Regions from separate parts of the Homo sapiens genome. Here all the other regions are linked to region 1. The links are contacts of gene promoters, found by promoter capture Hi-C in human tissues and cell types (Jung and others, 2019). All regions are on one chromosome and are shown on one strand. The core of a region is centred on a gene start or on the middle of the fragment in contact, and the rest is flanking DNA. Distances in the headings are between cores, read along the strand shown.

What was found. Contacts are between HindIII fragments. The study calls those that stand out against the background at their distance.
Region 2: a contact is called between a fragment that was not itself captured here and the fragment with the promoter of TMEM53 in region 1, in 1 of the 25 tissues and cell types used here (small bowel).
Region 3: a contact is called between a fragment that was not itself captured here and the fragment with the promoter of TMEM53 in region 1, in 1 of the 25 tissues and cell types used here (psoas muscle).

Annotation. Positions count from the first base shown.
Region 1 is chr1:44,672,912-44,675,933 of GRCh38, forward strand. It overlaps TMEM53 (transmembrane protein 53), which reads right to left and starts at 1,570. Exons shown (of 3, transcript NM_024587.4): 1 at 1,420-1,570. The coding sequence starts at 1,480. ARMH1 (armadillo like helical domain containing 1) reads left to right here and starts at 1,803. Exons shown (of 12, transcript NM_001145636.2): 1 at 1,803-1,962. RefSeq lists an enhancer at 1,014-1,515 and silencers at 1,283-1,422, 1,573-1,622, 1,693-1,742. The HindIII fragment of the contact is 6,219 bases long and covers 1-3,022 here.
Region 2 is chr1:42,926,237-42,929,258 of GRCh38, forward strand. It overlaps SLC2A1 (solute carrier family 2 member 1), which reads right to left. Exons shown (of 10, transcript NM_006516.4): 7 at 2,974-3,022; 8 at 2,696-2,797; 9 at 1,369-1,572; 10 at 1-1,005. The coding sequence ends at 805. Among named protein-coding and RNA genes, the nearest start is that of SLC2A1, 31 kb to the right of the region's middle. RefSeq lists enhancers at 818-1,317, 2,349-2,991, 2,992-3,022. The HindIII fragment of the contact is 6,588 bases long and covers 1-3,022 here.
Region 3 is chr1:46,169,545-46,172,566 of GRCh38, forward strand. All of the region lies in intron 1 of P3R3URF-PIK3R3 (P3R3URF-PIK3R3 readthrough), which reads right to left. It also overlaps a transcript of PIK3R3 not described here. Among named protein-coding and RNA genes, the nearest start is that of TSPAN1, 4.0 kb to the right of the region's middle. The HindIII fragment of the contact is 4,459 bases long and covers 1-3,022 here.

The DNA.
Region 1 (3,022 bases), core at 320-2,819:
TTCCCATTTCACAGTGGAGGAATCTCAGGCTCAGGGAGGTTCAATAGCTTGCCAAAGACATATAACTTGTAAGACATGGAGCTGAAATGTGAACCAGGACCACGAGGCTGCCCTCCTGGCCGTGCAGAAGGCAGCTCCAACCCTTTGCAGCCGAAGACTCTCCAAAGGAAATAATATTAACTGACTTCATGGCTTGCTGACGCCAAAACGTGTCCAAAGTATTTTTACATCTATAAACCCAAAAGCGCTAAGCCAGCAGATCCAGTTCTAGGGAAAAACAGCTGGTCTGGGGCCATCTGTTCTGCGGGAGTCTAAGGGCTGCCCTCTCCTAGACTCCAACCAAAGAACATGAGATGCTACGGGAGGGATCTGGGAAGGCTCTCCTTAAGGAGGTAAGTTTTATGGAGAGCAGAGTATAAGATCAAACCTTTGCATTAGAAAGATCACTGTGGTAGCAGTTTAAGAGGCTGGGCTGCAGGCAGTGAGACAGGAGGCGTGAAGGCGATGCTGGACTAATGCAAGTGAGGGACACGCTGGCCTCAGGCTGATCATACTTCAAGGCCCTTCTGCCAGAATTCCCAGAGAGACCAAACTTTCCACTCTCTGGACCCCGATCTACTCACACTGTCATGGATGCGGGCCTGCTGTCAATCCTAATTTTGTGGAGAATCCTACATGTCTTTCTTTAATGTAAGGAGAGAAACAATGCTGATCGTAAATGCCAATTACTGAACTCACTCCATGCCAGGCCCTTTACACAATCTCCAGATGGCCCCAACAGCCCTATGAGGAAGGTTACTATCCTTATCCCGGTTTTGCAGAGGAGGAAACTGAAGTTCAGAGAAGGTAGCTTACCAAAGGTAATCCAGCTCCTAAAGGAAGGAGTCAGGATTTCAGTCGAGTTCTACCCGACGGCAGAGACTGCACTGTTAACCACTGCCGAGAAGAGTGGAGAGGGACGGCTAAGGGTTCTGAGTCCCGGGCTTCTGCGAGGATCGGTGACCCCGCGAGCCTCCCCCTCCACGCCTTCGGGAAAATAATAAGTGATAGGCTAGATGTGGGAAGCCCAATCCCAAACAAAGGAATCAGGAGGGATCCAGCTTTCGGCAGCCTTCAGCTATGAGAAGTGATTAAAGGGCATGGACCTGAGCACCCCGGACAGGAAAGACAGAAAAAGAGGTCCCAAGCGAGCAGCTGACTCGGGCAGAGGCGGGGCTCGCCAGGGAGGAACACTCTGGGGCGGGACTTACGAGGGGCGGGGCTCTCTGAGCCTCTCTAAGTCTAGGACCTGCCAGACCCTATGAGGGGGCGGCCCGAGGGAGGGCGGGGCCGCATGAGGGGCGGGGCTACAGCTGCGCTCGCAACCCACAGGTTCATGAGGTCACCTCCCCGCGCCTGGACCCAACCCTCATTCCATACTCTGGCTCCAGCAGGGCTGATCCGGGATCTCGATGGTGTAGTCCAGCTCTGCCGAGGCCATGGTGAAGGCGCCGGCCCAGAGCACGGGTCTCCAGCCGGAACTCCCGCTTGCGCACCCGTGCCTCACCCGGGCGCCTCCTGGGCGCCGCCCAATCACCACACACCTCCCCCAACACGGCCCAATCCCTGCGCCGCGCTCTGTGACCTCCCGCCTTAGCAACCACCGAGTCTCTTCCAGAGCCTCTCGCCTCACCCCACTAGCTCGGCCCTAGCAACCATGCCCCGCCCCTATTACTGACCCGCAGCCATTGGCTAATTCGCTTGATCTGGATCAGGTATTGGTCAGCCGGGGCGCCGGTCAGGAAGAGTCCCCACCCTCTCATGTAGGTGAGAGGCGGCTGAAGAGTTGCTGTATTCTGGGAATGGGCAGGGTCACTCGTCCGAACAGAGTCCTATCCTACGCGGCGGAAGAGTGTGCCCTTTGACTTGCATCGTCTACCTACCTCTGCCATCCTCTACCAGCCGCAACTGCGAGGGCTGGAGGTATAAAACCGTACAAAACGGCCTAGGGGGCGCGTGCCGACCCAACCTCCACCCAGTGGGGTTGAGGCATATTCTGGATGGATGGATGGATGGATGGATGGATGGGTGGATGGGAAGCAGTCTTCAGTTGATGACTTTAGAGAATGCCCTGTTGATAGGGCCCACCGAGGAGCTGGGAGTGCAACTTTCTTGCATTTATCTATATTTACATACTATGTGCCAGCATATTTACATACTATGTGCCAGAGACTGGGTGGGCTAAATAAGGTTCCTTAGGCCCTAGTGAGAATCAAGCTTTTGGCCCTCCCTCTCCCATGTCTTAACGGGAGAGGGAGAGAAACCATGCATGAAGCAACTCTGATTCTGCGTGTGAGATAAATACTACAGAAGAGTAAGGATTTGAGGAGCTCAGAATCAGAGAAGGGGCATTTATGGCAGTGGGGTTGGCTCTTGAGCTGGGCCTTGAAAGACTTTTAGAGATAGGGAGGGGGAAAGACTCTTTGCATGCCAGGCGCGGTGGCTCAAACTCGTAATCCCAGCACTTTGGAAGGCCAAGACGGGAGAATGGCTTGAAGGAGTTCAAGACCAGCCTGGGCAACATAGTGAGACCTTCATCTCTACAAAATTAAAATTTTAAAAATTAGCCAGGCATGGTAGCGCATGCCTGAAGTCCCAGCTACTTGGAAAGCTGAGGTGGGAGGATCACTTGAGTCAGGAGGTCAAAGCTGCAGTAAGCCATGATTGTGCCACTGCACTCCAGCCTGGGTGACAGAGTGAGACCCTGTCTCAAAAAACAAAACAAAGAGCCCAGTGTGGTGTCTCACCCCTGTAATCCCAGCACTTTGGGAGGCTGAGGCGGGCGTATCACTTCAGGTCAGGAGTTCGAGACCAGCCTGGCCAACATGGCGAAACCCCATCTCTACTAAAAATACAAAAATTAGCCGGGCATGGTGGTGCACACCTGTAATCCCAGCTACTTGGGAGGCTGAGGCAGGAGAATGGCTTGAACCTGGGAGGTAGAGGTGGCAGTGAGCCGAGATTGCTCCACTGCACTCCAGCC
Region 2 (3,022 bases), core at 523-3,022, 1.7 Mb before region 1:
ATACTATAACTTAGTGTCTGTATTTAATATTGACAACCAAAAATATATATAAATATCTTGCATCTATACACAACAGGGCAGGAGTCTCCATGTCTTCTTGAGCAGTGAGTTTGCAGGCTCCCACAGGCCCTCTTCTCATGGTAATAGTGTGGCCCTCAGTGCAAAGGAGACTAGAACCCGGCAGCCCAGACTGGCCCTTCCCCTCTCCTCCCTGCACTCCAGTGCTCCCAACTGGTCTCAGGTAAAGAAAGATTAATTTGAGTGGTTGGGTAGGAAGAGATGGGAAGGGGCAAATCCTAATGGAGCCTGACCCCTAGAGTGGGGAGATCCAGGCCAGCAGAACGGGTGGCCATAGCCACCTCCTGGGATAGAAGCTTTGTAGTTCATAGTTCGATTAGTGTGTCCTTAGGACATAGGTCCAGCCCTACAGATTAGCTGGGTGAAGAAGGCAAGTGTCTCGACAGGGCTTAGTCTCCACCCTCAGGCATGGAACCATTCAGGGTGAAGCCTGGGATGTGGGCACAGGAGACTCAGGCTGATATAAAAATAACAAAATCAGTAATAAAAAAATTATAAAACCTGTTGCTTGTCTGAATAGATTTGAGCAACAGTCTTGCTTTTGTTAAAATCCTGGAGCCGTTAAGTCCTGAATATTCTTCTGGACATCATTGCTGGCTGGAGAAAGGAGCCCCAGGCCCGGCTCGGCTGACATCTGTCAGGTTTGGAAGTCTCATCCAGCTGCCTGTGCTCCTGAGAGATCCTTAGGGCTGCTGGGAGCAGGCCGGGCTGGTGATCTGGGGCGACTCACACTTGGGAATCAGCCCCCAGGGGATGGAACAGCTCCTCGGGTGTCTTGTCACTTTGGCTGGCTCCCCCCTGCCGGAAGCCGGAAGCGATCTCATCGAAGGTCCGGCCTTTAGTCTCAGGAACTTTGAAGTAGGTGAAGATGAAGAACAGAACCAGGAGCACAGTGAAGATGATGAAGACGTAGGGACCACACAGTTGCTGAAAGACACACAGACACACTTGGTTGGAGTCATGACCCTACATCCTGGCTGTAGGACTTTGGATAAGTCACTTTACCTTTGGGCCTTTGAGCTGAAAAGGGAACATCCACCTACCCAGGGATGCTATCATAATTAACTGAGACCACGCTTGTACCTAGAATGTAACAGGCTCCAGGAGCACCATTCAAGGCTAAGGGGAGAACCCTGGAGTTGAGGTCAGCATTCTTGGTCATGTGACCTGGGCTTCCTACCCTCAGTTTCCTCCTCAGCATGATTCCTAATGAGAATGCTGGGCCAGCACTTTGCACAGCACTGTGGGGTCATGCGTGCGGGTGAGTATAGAGACAGTGGGGGTTCTCACCTCCACATACTGGAAGCACATGCCCACAATGAAATTTGAGGTCCAGTTGGAGAAGCCTGCAACGGCAATGGCAGCTGGACGTGGACCCTGGCTGAAGAGTTCAGCCACGATGAACCATGGGATGGGGCCAGGACCCACTTCAAAGAAGGCCACAAAGCCAAAGATGGCCACGATGCTCAGATAGGACATCCAGGGTAGCTGCTCCTGTTGAGGATGACGGAGAGGGGGAAAAGTTAGACTGGGTTGTGATGGATCCTCAGGGGAAACAGAAGCTACAGAGGCCAGAGCAGAGCTATGCGAGAAGGCAGGAAGCCTGGGGATGGTCCTGGATTTGTTGTGTATCCAGCATTGGGCCTAAGTTTCCTCATCCGAACAAAATGATTTAAGTCCTGCAGGGTGGCTGCAAGTGTTGAGTCCACCCGCTGGGAGTGGTAATGTGGTGTGCATGTGGACGGTGCTAAGAGGCCCCATGGTCCCCTGTCTGTGCCTGCAGCACAGTCCGCCTGTGGCAGGATGCAGAACATTCCTGGGGGTGGGGTGGATTCAGGTTCTAAGGCGTGTGAGGTGCCCAGCTCAGGCTGGCACAGAGTAAGCGCTAAGCATACGGTTCTGCATATAACCATTCTTGAGGAGGCCAGGGTAGAAAATTTATGGGCTTTCCACTTGCTGCCTGTCTGGCCTTTCGGCAACCACCAAACTTTCCAAGCCCAGGTTGAGCTGTAAAATGACAGTCATGGTGCTTTCCTTGCCCAGAGGCTAAATAAACGAGTGCCTGTGTGTGAGTGCCAGGCACAGGGTTAGCACAGCGGTCACAGTCACAGGCCTGGGACTGAGGTTGATTCCTGGCTTCATCCTTTATCTGACAAGTTACTAACCTCACTGGGACTTAAGCTTCCTCCCCCATAAAATGGGAAGAACTGAACTACACCTCCAGTCGTGTGAACTGAATGAGGCAAGGCATGTTTCTGCGCCTCTATGGGGAGGACAGCACTACTTCCCGGGGTTGCTGTGAAGATGAATTGAGGCTACAGATGAAGATTGGAAAGGGTTAATATTAGGCAAAGCAATTCCTTAAGGAGGTGAGAGTTTGGGGTCTGGGACCAGAGGTGCTGCGCTGAGAATCCATCAAGCAGGGAGGAGCAAGTTCAAGAGAGGATGTGTGTGGTTTGGAAGGAGACAACTTCAGGAGCCAGAAAGTCAGACCCACAGCCAGGGAGAATGCAGCCACCAAAAGGCCTGCCAGCCTGGGGCTGAGACAGGCATTTTGGGATATGAAGCCCAGGCAAACTCTCCCGCATCCCTCACTCTCCAGAACCTAGCAACTCACCAGCAGTGCTAGCGCGATGGTCATGAGTATGGCACAACCCGCCATGCCAGCGAGGCCTATGAGGTGCAGGGTCCGCCGGCCTGCTCGCTCCACCACAAACAGCTGTGGGCAGAGACAGTGTCAGTGCCACCCCTGCCTAGTGCCCTTCTGAACCCACCCACCCAGAGGCCTTGCCTCAAGAGCTGAGAAAGTCACAGGGCACTGCAAAGACCAGTGGGGAAGATGGCACTGCCTCCTCCCTGGGGTTTGGCTGGGGGGGCCAGTAAGCAAAGACTCACCGACACGACAGTGAAGGCCGTGTTGACGATACCGGAGCCAATGGTGGCA
Region 3 (3,022 bases), core at 124-2,623, 1.5 Mb after region 1:
AGACTTCAAAAGACAGCAAAGGAGATTTGAGGCCCAGAGATGGGATAGAACTTGCCAAAGTTCACACAGCAGGTATAAGTAGGTAGAACAGCAGGCAAGCAAGGAGAGGGAGGCAAATGGGCGTGTGAGTAGAGGTCAGGGCTGAGGTATTGAGCTGAATCCAAGGACAGACAGCTGAGCAAGAAGACCTTCAGCTGACATTGCCCCATTTCCCATGCCCAGCAGGGCCTGGCATTTGCCTGTCTTTGGAACTGCTCCTTCTGGGTTCCTGAGTTTGCAGTAGTTTCCCAGAAGTGCTAGGTAAATACCTTTGTTGTTTGCTGAATAACCAGCCCCAAAGATTGGACAAGGGTCCCCATACAAATTTTGCCTCAAGATTGGCTCCTTCTATAGAGATGATCAGCCCCCCTAGGCACAACCCCACCCAGGTGCTCTCCACAGGGTCCTCTATCAGGGCCTTGCTGGGAGCTCTGAACCCCACCACATGGAGTGGCTTCGGTGTGCATCATGTGGCTCAGGGCTTAGCACCTTTGAAGACAGTCTATTCCTCCCAGCCACCCCGAGAAAAGCATGGAGTATTTTCTGTTCGGTACCTTTCTTCCCAAAAAAGATAGCCATTCCAATATGATAAGAAGTCTTACTAACCTTTGGAAGGAAATGTCCTGGGCTGATGGTAACTGCAGTTATGGGGAAGCTGGAGATGCTGGGGTCAGCATATTATGCTACTTGATGATTCTTTCTTTAGGTTATGTTTTCTTTGTTTGTATAATTCTGCTTTCTCTATCCCCACCTGCTGCCCCCTGCCCCTCATCTTCAGGAACCAGAAATGTGTTCTCATGGACAAAGTCTGTCTTCTGTCTGGTTTGGTGTTTGTTTGTTTGTTTGTTTGTTTTGAGACAAAGTCTAGCTCTCGTCCCCCAGGCTGGAGTGCAATGGCATGATCTCGGCTCACTGCAACCTCTGCCTCCCAGGTTCAAGCGATTCTCTTGCCTCAGCCTCCCAAATAGCTGGGATTACAGGTACCTGCCACCAAGCCTGGCTAATTTTTGTATTTTTAGTAGAGACGGGGCTTCACCATATTGGCCAGGCTGGTCTCAAACTCCTGACCTCAGGTGATCCACCAGCCTCAGCCTCCCAAAGTGCTGGGATTACAGGCGCGAGCCACCGCGCCTGGCCCTGCCTGGTTTAAGCTTATGTGTCCCAGGCTCCCTACCTCCCCTCAGTGTTCATGTGTGGACACCTTTGCCTATCCCCAGCAGGAAATCCTCTAGTTTAGACAGCCACCTGAATGTAAGGGCTTTATTAATTGATTTCTCAAGATGTCCATTTCAAGGATATTCTAATTTTGTCATCTGGAACTCAGTAATGCCACAATTCTGAATTTCTTAGTTTCTATAACCCAGATTTTACCATGCTGGAATTCTGTGATGCTAAGATTCCATAACTGTGAACTCCATGAATCTAGAATTTCATGATTTTTTAAAATTGTGTTTAATGAATTTTGTTGGTAATAGTAGTCAGCACTCTCTTGGCCTCAGTTTTGTGTTTGTTTTCTAGAAGTTGCAAGTCTCAGCTCCAGGCTCTCTTCTCTGGGCATGCCGGTGCAGAGGAAGGTCATTTCCACCTCTCCCGAGGCTCAGGGGTTGGGATAGTACCCAGGGAAGCCCAGTCCTAGGGCCCAACACTCAGTCTACTCCCTCTCTACTGAAAACTCTTACTTGGGCTTCAGTACCTGAGGGTAGCAGGAAAAGCAGTCTCCTTTGCAGTCCTTCCACCCAGCTTCCTGTCCTCCTTGCACTGCCCCATGGTCCAGGGAGAGAAAGTTTTGTGGGAGACTGCCCTGGCTGAATGGGTAGGTGTGGGAAGAAGGGTTAAGCACTGGGCAGAGAGCCAGTGGAGGAACCAGGGGACATTCCCTAGGGAGCCCTGCAGCCTTCCCCAGAGGTGAGGAAGGAACAGAGGCCGGAAGTGGGGGTGTGGGTGAGGGCACTGGTAAGGGTGGGGTGACCGGTATTGCATTGTGGGGTTGGAGCTGGGCTTCCGGCCATTGACCTATTAGTGACAAGCGACCTCCAGCCTGGCGCCCCAGGGGCTGTCTGTTCGTGCCCTTACCCACTGACTCTGTGTTCCTGTGCCTGAGTCAGACTCCCAGGAAAATCTCGGGGGCAGGAGTTGGGGTCTGGGGAACCTATTTCTCTAGAGCGGAGCCACAGAGGCGAAGAGAGGGGCCAGGACACTCCAAGGATCAGATCAGGGCTTGGGGCAGAACCAAGACTGAAGCTCCGGGCTCCTGCCTCTAGCCCAGAGCTGTTCTCTTCACGGTCCAAAGGGTCCCAGAATTATAAAGTAATACTCCCCCAACTAGCCAGGTGGTGAAACTCAGGGCTAGAGGAAGAGCCCGTGCTAGGCTGCCTCCCAGGAGCAGCCTGGACCTTCTTCCAGTCCTGCAGCACATGGCTGAAGCTGCCAAACCCGATTTTCCAGTGGCTGCCTGAGGCTGGCTGGAGCGGGAAGCCCTCCTCCTGGCATGAACCCTCAGGCCATCATCCTCCTCCCCCTCACCTCCCGATTCGGTGGCTTGGCCTGGCCTGCTCCTCCTGCACCTGTGCCAACTGTCCCAGTGTGCCACCACTTCCTTCTCCACCTGCCTGCCATCTCCCCTGGGCTGCTCCCCAGGCACTGTGAGGTGTGGTCCAGAGCTGTCCATTTCTGAGCCTCGGTTTTCTCATCTATAGATGAGGAATAGTGGCCTGCCTCCCAGGGATTGACTACAGGAAGATTTCAAAGAAAAGTGAGGTGGTAGGGGGCAAGCAGTAGCTCACGTCTGTAATCCCAACATTTTGGGAGGCTGAGGCGGGAGGATCACTTGAGCCCAAGAACTGGAGTGCAGTGGCATGATCTTGGCTGCAACCTCCACTTCCCAGGTTTAAGTAATTCTCGTGCCTCAGCCTCCTGAGTAGCTGGGAGAACCTGTTTCTACAAAAAAAATGTTTTAATTATCTAGGCGTGGTGGCCTGCACCT